2 separate regions of the Homo sapiens genome follow, and region 2 is linked to region 1. Evidence: promoter capture Hi-C in human tissues and cell types (Jung and others, 2019). All regions are on one chromosome and are shown on one strand. Each heading gives the region's core, a stretch centred on a gene start or on the middle of the fragment in contact. The rest is flanking DNA. Distances are from core to core; before and after follow the strand shown.

Region 1 (6,971 bases), core at 908-3,407:
TATTTTTGTCTCTCCTACTAAATGCAAGTTCCAGCTGAGTAAAAACCTTGCCTGTTTTGTTGAGAGACTAGCACAGTGCCCAATCCATGGTAGGCACTCACTGGCTGAATGAATGAATGCATCTCGGAGCTTACCCGGGCTGCAGGCCGTTTCTTCTCATCTCAGAACACTATCCTTTTATCATCTCTCCGTGCCCCGCCTTCCCCAGCTCCCTTACTCTTCTCCCTGTCATCATGCCTTCGGTCTGTCCATGCGCTTGCATCACGGTCCTCTCAATCAGAGTGATTTTGCCCCTGCAGGGGACATCTGACAGTGTCTGGAGACATTTTTTTTTCGCTTGTCACAACCCAGAGGGAGGCGCGGTGTGCTACTGGCCTGGTAAATAGAGCCCAGGGTTGCTGCACAACATCCTATAATACATAGAATAGCAGCCCCTCCCACCTCCCAACAAAAAACTATCTGGCCCCAAATGTCACAGTGCCAAGGCTGTGAAACACTGGTCTGGACAGAAACATTTCCAGACCCATGTGTTATATGGAAACATCCCTTAGTCCCTGACACTTCAAAGTTCTGTTCTTGACCCCATGGGCTCCCTAGGGACATCTCCATCAGGAAGATCCTTTGTTCCTGACCCCACCTCCTCTACCCTAATGCTGCCCTCCCAGGACCCTGCCTACACAATTCTGAACCTAAGCCCTGATCTAGACGTCCAAGTTATTTTACCTCTGGACCTGCAACCCTTACTCTGGGGCTCATCCTTTTGCATTTCTACCTATGGATTTTATTCTCCAGGTGTGGGACGCCTGCGGTTATTATGCTAATAATAAAACGATGATCATTGATGTGGCACTTCCTTGTGCCAAGTTCTACTTATGCTCACCATAAACCTGAGGTTGGTTCTGTTATTACTACTGTTTTACAAGTGAACCGAGGAGTGGTGGACTTAAGTAAGCTCTCTCAGTCACACAGCCAGCCAGTGGTGAAACCAGGAGTCAACACCAGACAGCGGGGCGCCACAGTCCATGCTCTTATTTTTCCAAGCTACCTTGGTAGGAAGGGGACACAACCATACTTAGCGTCAGTGGAGGGCTCTGTCCTCCACTCAAATGTACACATGCAGAAAACTGACGACGCAGGTGGTTGGCGGGGGCAGCGCACCACTGCTCAACTGGAGATGGTCAGATGCCCTGGTATGTGGACAAAGATAGCCCAGTCCGAAGCTCAGAGATGCAAAGTCCTCCAGTATTCACCACTACCTCTGCCTCTGTATAGGGTCAAAGAAAAACGACCACCAGCACCATAACCAACACCTAAACACGGTGATTAGTATGTGACAAGCTCTGTGCAGGGTGTTTCAGCTACGTCATCCCATTTAATCTTCCCAATAACACCCAGGCAGGTGCTATTAATATGCTATTTTACCAAGGAGGAAAGTCATGCACAATTAAACAGTTCCACAGATTTCCAGGGCAGCCCATCACATCTTAGAGCTGCTAAGAATTCTTCCCCTGTGGGCCTCCATTTCCATGGTTACAGTGAGATATACACCAGAAAGGCACAGTCACACACTCATAACCGCAAAGCCACTGACGCTAAGTGGCAGACAGACGCCCAGGCAAGTCACACAGTAACCCAAGGCTACAATAAACGCCCACATCAGCCTGACACTGACACACGCACACACTCCAGAAACACAAATCTTCACAGTCAGCGTCACACACCCACTCCCGGCTTCCCAATGGCTCCATTGTTTCCTTCGCGTGGGTCACGCAGCGATACACATCCGCGGTCCCGACATAGCTCCCTCACACACAGGCACACACGGCTCGCCTCACACGCGGCGCCAACTTCACACTTGGGCGCACAAGCCCCGAGAACCACAGCAGCGAAGGGCGCAAACCCCACGCCGTGGCGGGCCGAGAACCCACGCAGGCGCGAGCCCACCGCCCACGCAAGCACCCGCGCAGACGCCCACGCCATCGTGGATGCGCAAACCCACGCGCGCCTTGGCAGGAACGTCCACGCAGTGGCGGGCGCGCCGCCCACGCCCTCAGACACACCCACACTCTCGCCAGCCCCCTTACCTCGGTCTTCCCGGGCTCAGACCCCGGCGGCGACCACCGAGACAGCCGAGCAGGGACTCAGCGCCTGCGCACTCCCCTCCGGGACCCCGGGACCGCGCGCTGCACCCCCCTTCACACACGCACCACGCATGCGGGCGCGTGGCCCCGCCCCCAAACAAGGCCACGCGGCGTGCGCTCACCCGCCTCTCGGGGACAGTACCACCAGCCCCGGCCTGAGGCCCCGACCCCTCAGCGCCACACGCACAAGCGCGTTCGCACGATTGGTGCAGGCGGACGCGCGAGGTCCCGCGCCTGCGCACACCCCCGAGGCTGGCACGCACACCGGTCTCCTAGGGGACTGGCGCCTGGCCCTGCTTTTCATCCTCTCAGGAGATCACGTGTGGACACTGAGGCCCTTCCTCGAGCTCTTTAACCAAACCCAACCTCCCCAATTCGCCGCCTTCCCCGCTCCCACAACCACACGTTCCCGTGTGAGGGCTTATTGCCTCCAGCCAGCCAGCGTCCTTCGCCCCCACATTCACGAGGTTTGGAGCCGGCCTCACCCGCGGAGGCGGACACCGCCCACCCGCGCGTGCGCACTACGCAGTCATCCTGCGACCTCCAGAATCCACCGGGGTGCAGCGAGGCTGTGGAAAGTCCCACCCAGAACGTGAGGTGAAGAAGGCTTGGGCTGCGCTGGTTCTGCTCTGTCCGGGTCGGAGATGAACTGACCCGGGAGAGCAGCGGAGGGATGTTTCTTTTGGCCAACAGTGGGGACTCACCTGCACGTTTTGCGAAGAGGCCCACAGTCCTTTGCGTGGCGCTCGGACTACATTTCCCAACGGCCCCTGCACGCCCTGGGGGCTGTTCCATGCGGTGTTGCGCCTGCGTAGCCGGCGGGCTGGCAGTGAGACTGACTGCGTCGGGGTTGAGACTGGGTGGATGAGGCTCACCCCGGCGGGGAGAAGGGACGAGGAGGGGCGGACAGCGGAAGGTCCGGGAGTGTCCGCCATAAAGTCGTTTGAGGTGACCGTTGCGTAATTGTGAGTCTGTGAGAGAAGATGTGAAGTATGGCCTCGTCCCGGTCATCTGGGCGTGCGGGTCCCGGGTTTTGATCGCGCGTTTGTGTAGGTGAGACCCACATTGTGTTACCCTGAACATGTGTGAGGACGAACCTTTGTGTTTTCTTATACGTGTGTCTCTGAGGCGATTTTTGTGGTTTTGTACGTGGCGGGGGGCACTGATTTTGAATATGTGTGTATGTTCTGGACATTTGTTTAGCTTCTGCATCCACTTCTGCGGAAGGGCAGAGTTGAGTAGGTGGGAACAGGTACTGTGTGGCCCCACAAAGCCTGAACTATTTACTGTTGACTCTAGAGCCCAGTTTTTGCGGTGTGTACGTCTCTGTGGGGAACCACACATTTTGAATATGTATACTTGTGTATATTTACGTCTATTCTATGACTGCTTTTGCACAATGGCAGGGTTCAGTACTTGCAGCAGAGATCTTGTGGCCCATAAAGCCTAAAATACTATCCGACTAAGGTTTCGAGCCGTAGCCAGTTTTTGTGGATGAGTGTTGTGTGTGTGTGGGAAGCCAGTGATTGATTGATTGATTGATTGATTTGGGACGGAGTCTCGCTCTGTCGCCCAGGCTGGAGTGCAGTGGCGCGATCTCGGCTCACTGCAACCTCCGCCTCCAGGTTCAAGCCATTCTTCTGCCTCATCCTCCCTAGTAGCTGGGACTACAGGCGCCCGCCACCACGCCCGGCTAAGTTTTTTGTATTTTTAGTAGATTCGGGGTTTCACCATGTGGGCTCTTGACCTCGTGATCCGCCCGCCTCGGCCTCCCAAAGTGCTGGGATTACAGGCGTGAGCCACCGCGACCGGCCAAGGAAAGCCAGTGTTTTTGACTCTGTGTGTGTGTACCCGCCTGTGTGTTGAGACCCAGTTTTTGTAGTTGCATAGGTGGGTATATGTGTGAGGGGAACCCAGGGCCTGTGATTTCTTTCTTCCCAGGTGACTCTGAGCAAGTTTTGGGGACTAGGTAGTAGGGAGAATGTGTGAGGAACTAGTTTTGGTTTCCCATTTCTGTGATTAGGTAGTAGCAATAATAAAAATAAAAGCTAACAGATACTACTATTAGGACTTTTACCATTACCTCTGTGACTAGCAGCTAGCACTTACTGATTGTTGTCCCTGGTCAAAAGTGAATTTTTCCATTTAAGGTTTTCTTTAATCCTGTAAGCCGTTCTCTGAGTTGTTCCTTGGAGCAAGTTTCTTTCTAGACTGGAGATTGTTCTAAATACCTGGTAATACTAGAATAAGGGGTGTGGTCAAGAGATCCAAGAAATCTTAGGATAAATCTGTCACTTGGCAGTTTCTTTGTTTTCTTTAAACCACCTCCCAAGAAAGTATGTCATCCTTTCTGCTGTTTTAGGGGCATGTTAGTGCGAAAATCTGGGAAAAAGCTTTATGCCTCAGACTGTCCTAGTTCAGAGAAACCAGAGTGTGTGGGTCGGATGTCTTGGCTCCTGATCAGGCTCTGTTGTGCCCATTCTCCGAATAAAGCAACTATCTCCCAAGACACCCATGAGTTTTCTAAGACAGTTTGTCCCAGAGCCCAGGTCCAGAATCTAGTCCTGGTCTTGGATTTGGTCAGACCTTCCCTCACTCTCACCTCAGGACTCCCCACCACTTCCCCCCCTGCCCCAGGAACCCATGGGAATTACAGGCATAAATTAAATACCTGATCCTATGACAGCTCCAGAGTATCTGGAATCTTTTTTTTTTTTTTTTGAGACAGTGTCTTGCTCTGTCGCCCAGGCTGGAGTGCAGTGGCGTGATCTCTGCTCACTGCAAGCTCCGCCTCCTGGGTTCAGGCCATTCTTCTGCCTCAGCCTCCCGAGTAGCTGGGACTGCGAGTGTCCATCACCACACCCAGCTAATTTTTTTGTACTTTTAGTAGACACGGGGTTTCACCTTGTTAGCCATGATGGTTTCACTCTCCTGACTTCGTGATCTGCCCGCTTCAGCCTCCCAAAGTGCTGGGATTACAGGCGTGAGCCACCACGCCCAGCCCAAGATTTAATTTGTTAAAAAAAAAAAAAAAAAAAAAAAAAGTAGGGTAAAGACGCTAGAAAGTCTAGAGAGGAAGGAGGGATTATTTTACACAGGATGGTCAGGGGAGGCCACTTTGATAGGTGGCATTTAGCAGTGAGGCTTCCTGAACTCAGCATGACTGCTCCGCTTGGCTCAGATTCCAGCTCTGTCCACTGTAGTTGAGGAATTATCCCTAGACAGAGAATGGGGAGATAAAGAGGCTCAGCTTGTTAACAGGTTCCCCTCTCACATGAATCTTTTGTCCACTGCCTCAAAACTGCCCCGATATAGTTTAATTTCGTAGTATGCTATTGTGTCATGCTGCAACTCTTTCAGCTCCAAAAGGGATGGCACCAGGTTCAAGAGGCTGAAGAAGAGACTCAGATCCAGGAAATGAGGCATAGGTTATATGTGAGATGGAACTTACATACAGAGTGGTCCAGTGGTGGTAGGCTGAACAGGAGAACTGCCACCGCCTGCAGAAAGCATGGACTTTGTATAGCATTTTCACTTAATACTCTCCTCCTAACAGCATCCACATGGCAACCCTCATTTAACCCAAGACAAAGAGCCTCAGCCCCCATAGGGCCAGCGTTCCACAGGACAGGCCAGGGACTCATTTAACCCAAGACAAAGAGCCTTAATCCCCTATAGGGCCCACGTTCCACAGGACAGGCCAGGGACTCAGGCATTTATCATAGATAAAGATGAATCTCCATGTTGGTCATATTTGGAACTCCGAACATGTATTCAGGTGCGTCTGCCATGCTGGGTCATTTTCAGAGTATGCTTAAGTTATTGCTATCAGTGTCTACCATACACAGTTGGATCTACCATACATAGTTGCATCTGCCATATGCTATGATAGGAAGACTTGTCTAGTACAAGCTTCTGTATCATAGCCCATAGCAGAACTCATATTTGTGAGTATTGTTTGAAGGGATTAAGCAGAGAGAATTGAGTCAGGATATCACTGGGGAGGTATACAGTTTATTTGTGGGATTTCAAGGGCCTGAATTGTGACAACAGAATAAAGTTCTTGTGGGAGAAATATTTTCAGAGGATTTGAGAGCATGGTGTTGAAGAGTTAAGGAAACAGCATATATCTTTTCGTGCTAGATGCTTACATGCAAATGAATCTCCTTATGCTGTCACAAATGTATGCTTCTCTCTCCCTCCCTTTCACTTATCAGTCACATCCCACTAGTCCTGGAGCTTCTCCTACCCTGAGGTCAGGCATGAACCCTGGTGTGTAGTTTTGCTCAAATGCTTACGATCGATAACCCAGTTGTGCACCAGGTTTCTTTATATCTTGAAGTTATCTACTGAACACATGAAAAATAAATTCAGCAAATTATAGAAACTACGAGACACTGCTGTCTACCCTTTGACAAACATTTACTCAGTGTTGTGTGCTGGCTTATTTGCATTGTGTTTTGCAAAAGTCTTAAAATCACAGTCATATCTAGGTTTTTTTCAAGCAATTCTCCTGCCTCAGCCCCCTGAGTAGCTGGGATTACAGGCACCTGCCACCATGCCCGGCTAATTTTTGTATTTTTAGTAGAGACAGGGTTTCACCATGTTAGCCAGGTTGGTCTTGAAATCCTGGCCTCGATGGTATACACATTCCTATGGAAGGCAAGCATTATCTTGTGAGGTACATAGCTGATATGATGCTTCTGCATGGTCTTCAAAGAAGGGGGGCCTTATCTTTCAAGAAACTGAATGAAACTCTTCTTAAAGCAAAAATAAGGCTAAAGAGAATATGACTGTTTAAGATCTACAACTTCATCTGCTTATATGTCC
Region 2 (7,924 bases), core at 1,131-3,630, 51 kb after region 1:
TCATTTGAGAATTCATACTGGTGAAAAACCCTATGAATGTAAAGAATGTGGAAAAGCTTTTAGAATCAGTTCACAGCTGGCTACTCATCAGAGAATTCATACTGGAGAGAAGCCTTATGAATGTATTGAATGTGGAAATGCTTTCAAACAGAGATCACACCTTGCCCAACATCAGAAAACTCATACAGGAGAGAAACCTTATGAGTGTAATGAATGCGGGAAAGCCTTCAGCCAAACTTCCAATCTTACTCAACATCAAAGAATTCATACTGGAGAGAAACCCTATAAATGTACTGAATGTGGAAAGGCTTTTAGTGATAGCTCATCCTGTGCTCAGCATCAAAGACTCCACACTGGCCAAAGGCCCTATCAGTGTTTTGAATGTGGGAAGGCGTTCAGAAGAAAGTTATCCTTAATTTGTCATCAAAGAAGTCATACTGGAGAAGAACCTTAAGAATGTAGTGCATGTGGCCAAGCCTTTAGTTATCACCAATCCCCTACTGTTAATCAGAGATGTCCCACTGGATAAAAAACATATAAATGTAAGAAATGTAGAAAAACCTTCAGCCAGGAGGCTGGCAAGATGGCCGAATAGGAACAGCTCTGATCTGCAGTTCCCAGTGAGATCAACGCAGAAGGTGGGTGCTTTCTGTATTTCCAGCTGAGGTACCTGGCTCATCTCATTGGGACTGGTTAGACAGTGGGTGCAGCCCACGGAGGGTGAGCTGAAGCAGGGTGGGGCGTAACCTCACCTGGGAAGTGCAAGGAGTCGGGGATCTCCCTCCCCTAGCCAAGGGAAGCCATGAGGGACTGTGCCATGAGGAATGGTGCACTCCGGCACAGATACTACGCTTTTCCCATGGTCTTCGCAACCCACAGACCAGGAGATCCCCCTTGGGTGCCTATGCCACCAAGGCCCTGGGTTTCAAGCACAAAACTGGGCGGCCATTCGGGCAGACACCGAGCTAGCTGTAGGAGTTTTTTTGATAGCCCAGTGGCACCTGGAATGCCAGTGAAACAGAACCGCTTACTCCCTTGTTAAGGGGGCTGAAGCCGGGGAGCCAAGTGGTTCCCATGCCCACTGAGCCCAGCAAGCTAAGATCCACTGGCTTGGAATTCTCCCTGCCAGCACAGCAGTCTGAAGTCAACCTGGGATGATCAAGCTTGGTGGGGGGAGGGGCGCCAACCATTACCAAAGCTTGAATAGGTGGTTTTCCCCTCACAGCGTAAACAAAGCCATGGGGAAGTTCCAGCTGAGCAGAGCCCTCCACAGCTCAGCAAAGCCTCTGTAGCCAGACTGCCTCTCTAGATTCCTCCTCTCTGGGCAGCGCATCTTTGAAAAAAGTGCAGATAAAACCCTCATCTCCCTGGGACAAAGCACGTGGGGGAAAGGGGTGGCTGTGGGCACAGCTTCAGCAGACTTAAACATTCCTGCCTGCCAGCTCTGAAGAGAGCAGCAGTTCTTCCAGCACAGCGCTTGAGCTCTGCTAAGGGACAGACTGCCTCCTCAAGTGGGTCCCTGACCCCCATGCCTCCTGACGGGGAGACACCTCCCAGCAGGGGTCCACAGACACCTCATACAGGAGAGCTCTGGCTGGCATCTGGTGGGTGCCCCTCTGGGACAAAGCTTCCAGAGGAAGGAACAGGCAGCAATCTTTGCTGTTCTGCAGCCTCCACCGGTGATACCCAGGCAGATATGGTCTGGAGTGGACCTCCAGCAAACTCCAGCAGACCTGCAGCCGAGGGGCCTCACTGTTAGAAGGAAAACTAACAGGAATATAATCAACATCAACAAAGGACATCCACACAGAAACCCCATCTGAAGGTTACCAGCATCAAAGACCAAAGGTAGATAAATTCACGAAGATGAGGAGAAACCAGTGCAAAAAGCCTGAAAATTCCAAAAACCAGAATGCCTCTTCTCCTCCAAAGGATCACAACTCCTTGCCGGCAAGGGAACAAAACTGGATAGAGAATGAGTTTGACAAATTGACAGAAGTAGGCTTCAGAAGGTGGGAAATAACAAACTCCTCTGAGCTAAAGGAGCATGTTCTAACCCAATGCAAGGAAGCTAAGAACCTTGAAAAAAGGTTAGAGGAATTGCTAACTAGAATAACCAGTTTAGAGAAGAACATAAATGACCTGATGGAGCTGAAAAACACAGCATGAGAACTTCGTGAAGCATACAGAAGAAAAACCTTCAGCCAGATTGAATGCTTTACAGGGAAGAATTCATACTGCAGAGCGGTCTTAACAATGTAAAGAATGTGCAAATGTCCTCAGACAAGATGCACACCTTGCTCATTAGTGAGTTCATTTCAGGCAGCCAGCTCTTCCTCACCCACTACATCACCAAGTCCTGTGGATATATCTGCTAAATATTTTTGGAATTTATCCACTTCTTTTGGTTCCCCAGTCCAAAACACAGTCATTTCACCTGGACTATTTCAATCATTACACAGGTGTCCAACCTTTTGTCTTCCCTGGGCCACATTGGAAGAAGAAAAATTGTCTTGTGCCACACATACAATACACTAACATTAACAATAGCTGATGAGCTAAGAAAAAAAAAAAGTCTGTGCATAGTTTTAGTGATACACCACCTCCGATAAGCAAAAAAGTCCTCACATTCAATGGGTTGCATACCCATGAATTCTAAAACTTCATCCTCTTTTGTCCCTTTCGAGTTAACATTACAGCCACAGTGACCTTTCAAAAATGCAAATTAAGTTACTCTTAAAACTCTAGTTAAAATACTTGATGTACATAAAGTGCTTAGCAAAATGACCAACTCATACTAAGTGCTTAGTAAATGTTAGATAAGTATTCTCCAGAATTGATGTAAATTATTTTTAAACAGTGCATTCTTGAAAGCAGTATGGCAGTCATAAAAATTTTGGAACCAAAACAGTATCTTTTTTTAAGCTAAAAAAAAAGTTTTAAATGGTGTCTTTCTATGTTGCCCAGGGTGGTCTCAAACTCCTGTGCTCAAGTGACCCTCCCACCTCATTCTCAAGTGGCTGCAATTACAGGCAACCAGCCTGACTTAAAACAGTATCTTAAGGTAGATGGTGATTAGCACATGTAGTATGCTTAACATTTAATATTATAATAAGACATCACAGCGGCTGTCTCATGATTAAGGCTGTGTTCCCTTGTTGGTGAGGAAATTAATTATGACTTGATAAATAGAACATGTTTTAAGAAGTGGCTATATAGCTCTGGATAAAACGAACAAAAGAATTAGAATTCCTGCGGGGAATATATACAAGACTTTATTTAGTCAAGTAAAAAAAAATCACTAATGTTTAACTGAAGAAAGAGAAATTGAATAATATAGTTCTATTTCAACATGTGGGTTCACAGATTTATTCTAACCTTCCAAGTAAAGTTGTTCCACTAGTAAAGTTGTTCTGGAGTATATTTTTTTTAAAAAAAACACTTAAAATGTTCCACTTCTTTCATGAGGCTAAGTCAACTCTGATATCAAACCAAGGGGAAAGAAATGAAATTATAGGTGAGTTTACTTAGTTATATACAAAAGGAAATTATTAGCCTCTGCTGATGGAGAACAGAGGCTGTGAATAAATGGAGATCCATAACATGATCCTACATGAATGTTTCAATATTGTAATCCTGTAAGTTACTTTTACATTGACAGTTCTGAAATTCATGTTGAGTGTTAATTAGGCAGGAATCAGAAGGGAGGTTTTGTAGAAGGTCGTATCCATGGGTTTTTTATATTTGAAAAGTGTTTTCGATGTATCATTGGGGGAGATTAAATGTCTTTGACAGTTGTCCAACTAGAAATAAAGTCAGCATCCCATTTGACTCCTTACACAGAAGTTCATTCTATACTCATTACAGATGTAAGAGGTTAAGATGGTAGAGGAGAATGTAGAGTATTTCTGTGCCTTTAGGTTCAGGAGGTCTTTGATAAGCAGGACAAGGTCCAGAAGCCATGAAGAGAGAATGACAGGACTGTGTAGAAGATTTAAACCTTTTTCATGGCGTAAGATACTGTATGCAAAGTTAAAAGGCATATGACAGGCTGAGAGATATCTTAAACATACATTAGAAAGGATATAGCCCTTGAAAAAGGGCTGTTGGAAAGCAGCAAGGATAAGGTGCACAGTCTTGCAGAGCATGTCAACAAAATTTATTGGATGAAGAAATTAAAATGGTTAAATAGAAGAAGTTCTCAACCTCACTAATGATCAGATAAGTGCAGATTGTAAAAGTCCTCATCCCCACCAACACAAACCAGCAGAAATTTTATGTGAATGTGAAGTTTGGATAATATCCAGTATTGTCGCAGGTGTGAGAAACCGTATTTTCAAATATTGAGAGGGTAAATTAGAGGAAAGCCATTTTAGAGGGCAATGTGGTGTTACCTGTCAGCATTTTGAATATAATTACCCTTTGCCACAATTCTACACCTAGTCAGTTATGTTCTCAAAAAGCACAAGTGCAGAAATATAGATGCATAAGCAAATGTGTTGCAGAATTGTGAAAAATTTGGAAAAAATGTTTAGTGCTATTAAAGTTATGGGTTACTTAAGTTACAGAAAATCAGTTTAGTAGATCACTGTGTAGTTACGGAAAATGAGATGGATCTCTACTCAAAGATGTCTTGCAGTTTATGAACTGAGATGTAACTTCATGACTAACATGATGACATCGTTATTAACTACATAAACTTTATAAAGCTTAAAAAATGCATTCATAGTATCTTATTTGTTGTTTTTGTTTACAATACAAATAGAAACCATGCACACAGATACAAGAACTCCTTCCCTGTTGTTTGTTTTTGTTTTGTTTTGTTTTTGGTAGCGGGCGGGGTGAGCTGCTCTCATGTTATTCCATGAGTTTTTTTATGTGTTGCTTGTTGTGCATGGTTCATTTTTTGTTTTTATTTTTTGAGACGGAGTCTCGCTCTGTCACCAGGCTGGAGTGCAGTGGTGCGATCTCGGCTCACTGCAACCTCCACCTCCCGGGTTCAAGCGATTCTCCTGCCTCACCCTCCTGAGTAGCTGGGACTACAGGATAGTCTCGATCTCTTGACTCATGATCTGCCCACCTTGGCCTCCCAAAGTGCTGGGATTACAGGCATAAGCCACCGCTTCCAGCCTGTATATGGTTCATTTAAATCAAATGAGATACTCCTTGAGACATGGGGGAAGTTGAATGTGAGTTATCCTTTGGCCAAGACTTAAAGATGGTATATGAGTTTGTCTGCTGTGCTCCCTAGACCTGACCCGATTCATGCTTCTGCCAGGTTGTAAACCTGTTTTGTCCTGCTGAATTGGCAGAGCAGTCCCAAAAGAACTGTAACTAAGGTATGCACATACTGAAGAAAGGGATATAGTATTTCTGGGAGAGCCCTAAGGAAGGTAGACTTCTGTTGCAGTCATTCTGAAGAATTATGGGTGGTGATTCTTGCACAAGCCCAGCTCATACATCTAGGCTAGATGATGCTTAGATATCTTTATCAGTGCCTGGGGATGTTTTAAGGCCTCTGGTTGGGTTTAAGCCTGCTGGGAGAAACCTCGGCTAAAAACAGTTGAAAAGCTTTTCCTGATCCTGTGCTTGAGAGCAGCATTTTACCTCTAGGGAGTGCTTTACTTGCCATCCATAGGATGCTAGGCACATTTCAAAGAAGGACTGTTTTAGGAAAGTGGTTTCTTATCTCTTAAATGTATTGAGGCTCATTTTATGGCCTATCATATGGTCTATCTTGGAGAAAGTCCCATGCGCTGTTGAATACAATGTGTATTCTGTGGTTGTTGGATGAAATGTTCTGTATATATCTGTTAAGTCCATTTGTTCCAAGGTATAGTTTAATTCCATTGTTTCTTTGTTGACTTTCTTTTTTTAAAAGTTTGAGATGGAGTTTCACTCTTGTCACCCAAGCTGGAGTACAATGGCATGATCTCAGCTCACTGCAACCTCTGCCTCCCAGGTTCAAGTGATTCTTCTGCCTCACCCTCCCGAATAGCTGGGATTACAGGTGCCTGCCACCACACCCAGCTAATTTTTGTACTTTTATTAGAGACAGGGTTTCACCATGTTGGCCAGGCTGGTCTTGAACTCCTCACCTCAGGTGATCTGCCTGCCTCAGCCTACCCAAGTGCTAGGATTACAGGCATGAGCCACTGTGCCAGACCTCTTTGTTGGCTTTCTGTCTTGATGACCTATCTAGTACTGTCAATGGAGTATTGAAGTCCCCCACTATTATTGTGTTGATCTCTATCTCATTTCTTAGGTCTATTGGTAATTGTTTTGCAAATTTGGGAGCTCCAGTGTTAGGTGCATATATGTTTAGGATTGTGATATTTTCCTGCTGGACAAGGCCTTTTACCATTATATAATATCCCTCTGTCTCTTTTAACTGCTGTTGCTTTAAAATTTGGTTTGTCTGATATAAGAGTAGTTACCCCTGCTTCTTTTTGGTGTCCATTTGCATGAAATGCCTTTTTCCACCCTTTAAGTTTATGTGAAGTCCTTATGGGTTAGGTGAGTGTCATAAAGGCAGCAGATAGCTGGTTAGTGAGTTCTTATCCATTCTACAGTTCTGTGTCTTTTAAGTGGAGCATTTAAGCCATTTACATTCAATGTTAGTATTGAGATGTGAGGTACCAGTGCATTCATCATGCTCTTTGTTGCCTGTGTACCTTGGTTTTTTTTTTTTTGGCTTTTTAACTTTTTTTTTTTGTATTATAGGTCCTGTGTGATTTATGCTTTAAAGAGGTTCTGTTTTGATATGTTTCCAGGATTTGTTTCAAGATTTAGAGCTCCTTTTAGCAGTTCTTATAGTGGTGCCTTGGTAGTGGTGAATTCTCTCAGCATTTGTTTGTCTGCAAAAGACTGTATCTTTCCTTCATATATAATGCTTAGTTTCACTAGATACAAAATTCTTGGGTGATAATTGTTTTGTTTGAGGAGGCTGAAGATAGGGACTCAATCCCTTCTAGCTTGTAGGGTTTCTGCTGAGAAATCTGCTGTTAATCTGATAGGTTTTCCTTTATAGGTTGCTTGTTGGCTTCTGTATCACAGATCTTAACATTATTTCCTTTGTCTTAACTTTAGATAACCTGATGACAATGTGCCTAGTGATGATCTTTTTGCAGTTAATTTCCCAGGTATTCTTTGTGCTTCTTGTATTTGGATGTCTAGATCTTTAGCAAGGCTAGGGATGTTTTCCTTGATTATTTCCCCAAATATATTTTCCAAACTTTTAGATTTCTTTTCTTCCTCAGAAACACTGATTATTCTTGGGTTTGGTCATGTAACATAATCCCTGACTGCTTGGAGGCTTTGTTCATATTTTCTTATTCCTTTTTCTGTCTTTGTTGGATTGGGTTAATTTAAGACCTTGTCTTCAAGCTCTGAATTTCTTCTACTTGTTCAATTCTACTGCTGAGACTTTCCAGAGCATTTTGCATTTCTATAAGTGTCCAATGTTTCTTGCATTTTTAATTTTTTTTCTTTATGCTATCTATTTCCTTGAATATTTTTCCCCTCAATTCTTGTATCACTTTTTGGATTTCCTTGCATTGGGCTTCACCTTTCTCTGGTGCCTCCCTGATTAGCTTAATAACTAACCTTTTTCAGGTAAATCAGGGATTTCTTCTTGGTTTGGATCCATTGCTGGTGAACTAGTGTGATTTTGGGGGGTGTTAAAGAGCCTTGTTTTGTCATATTACCAGAGTTGGTTTTCTGATTCCTTCTCATTTGGATATGCTTTGTCATAGGGAAGGTCTAGGGCTGAAGGCTGTTGTTCAGATTCTTTTCTACCATTCTTTTTCTATTCCCTTGACGTAGTACTCTCCCCACTTTTCCTATGGATGTGGCTTCATGTGAGCCAAACTGCAGTGACTGTTGTCTCTCTTCTGGGTCTAGCCACCCAGCAAGTCTGCCTGGC

The links. Contacts are between HindIII fragments. The study calls those that stand out against the background at their distance.
Region 2: a contact is called between a fragment that was not itself captured here and the fragment with the promoter of ZNF667 in region 1, in 10 of the 25 tissues and cell types used here (H1 embryonic stem cells, IMR-90 fibroblasts, adrenal gland and 7 more).

What each region holds. Positions count from the first base shown.
Region 1 is chr19:56,475,188-56,482,158 of GRCh38, forward strand. ZNF667 (zinc finger protein 667) reads right to left here and starts at 2,158. Exons shown (of 7, transcript NM_001321356.2): 1 at 2,085-2,158. It overlaps ZNF667-AS1 (ZNF667 antisense RNA 1), which reads left to right and starts at 2,687. Exons shown (of 2, transcript NR_036521.1): 1 at 2,687-3,194. The HindIII fragment of the contact is 11,770 bases long and covers 1-5,293 here.
Region 2 is chr19:56,525,495-56,533,418 of GRCh38, forward strand. It overlaps ZNF471 (zinc finger protein 471), which reads left to right. Exons shown (of 5, transcript NM_020813.4): 5 at 1-4,718. The coding sequence ends at 454. Among named protein-coding and RNA genes, the nearest start is that of ZFP28-DT, 9.3 kb to the right of the region's middle. RefSeq lists an enhancer at 154-1,353. The HindIII fragment of the contact is 5,520 bases long and covers 1-5,140 here.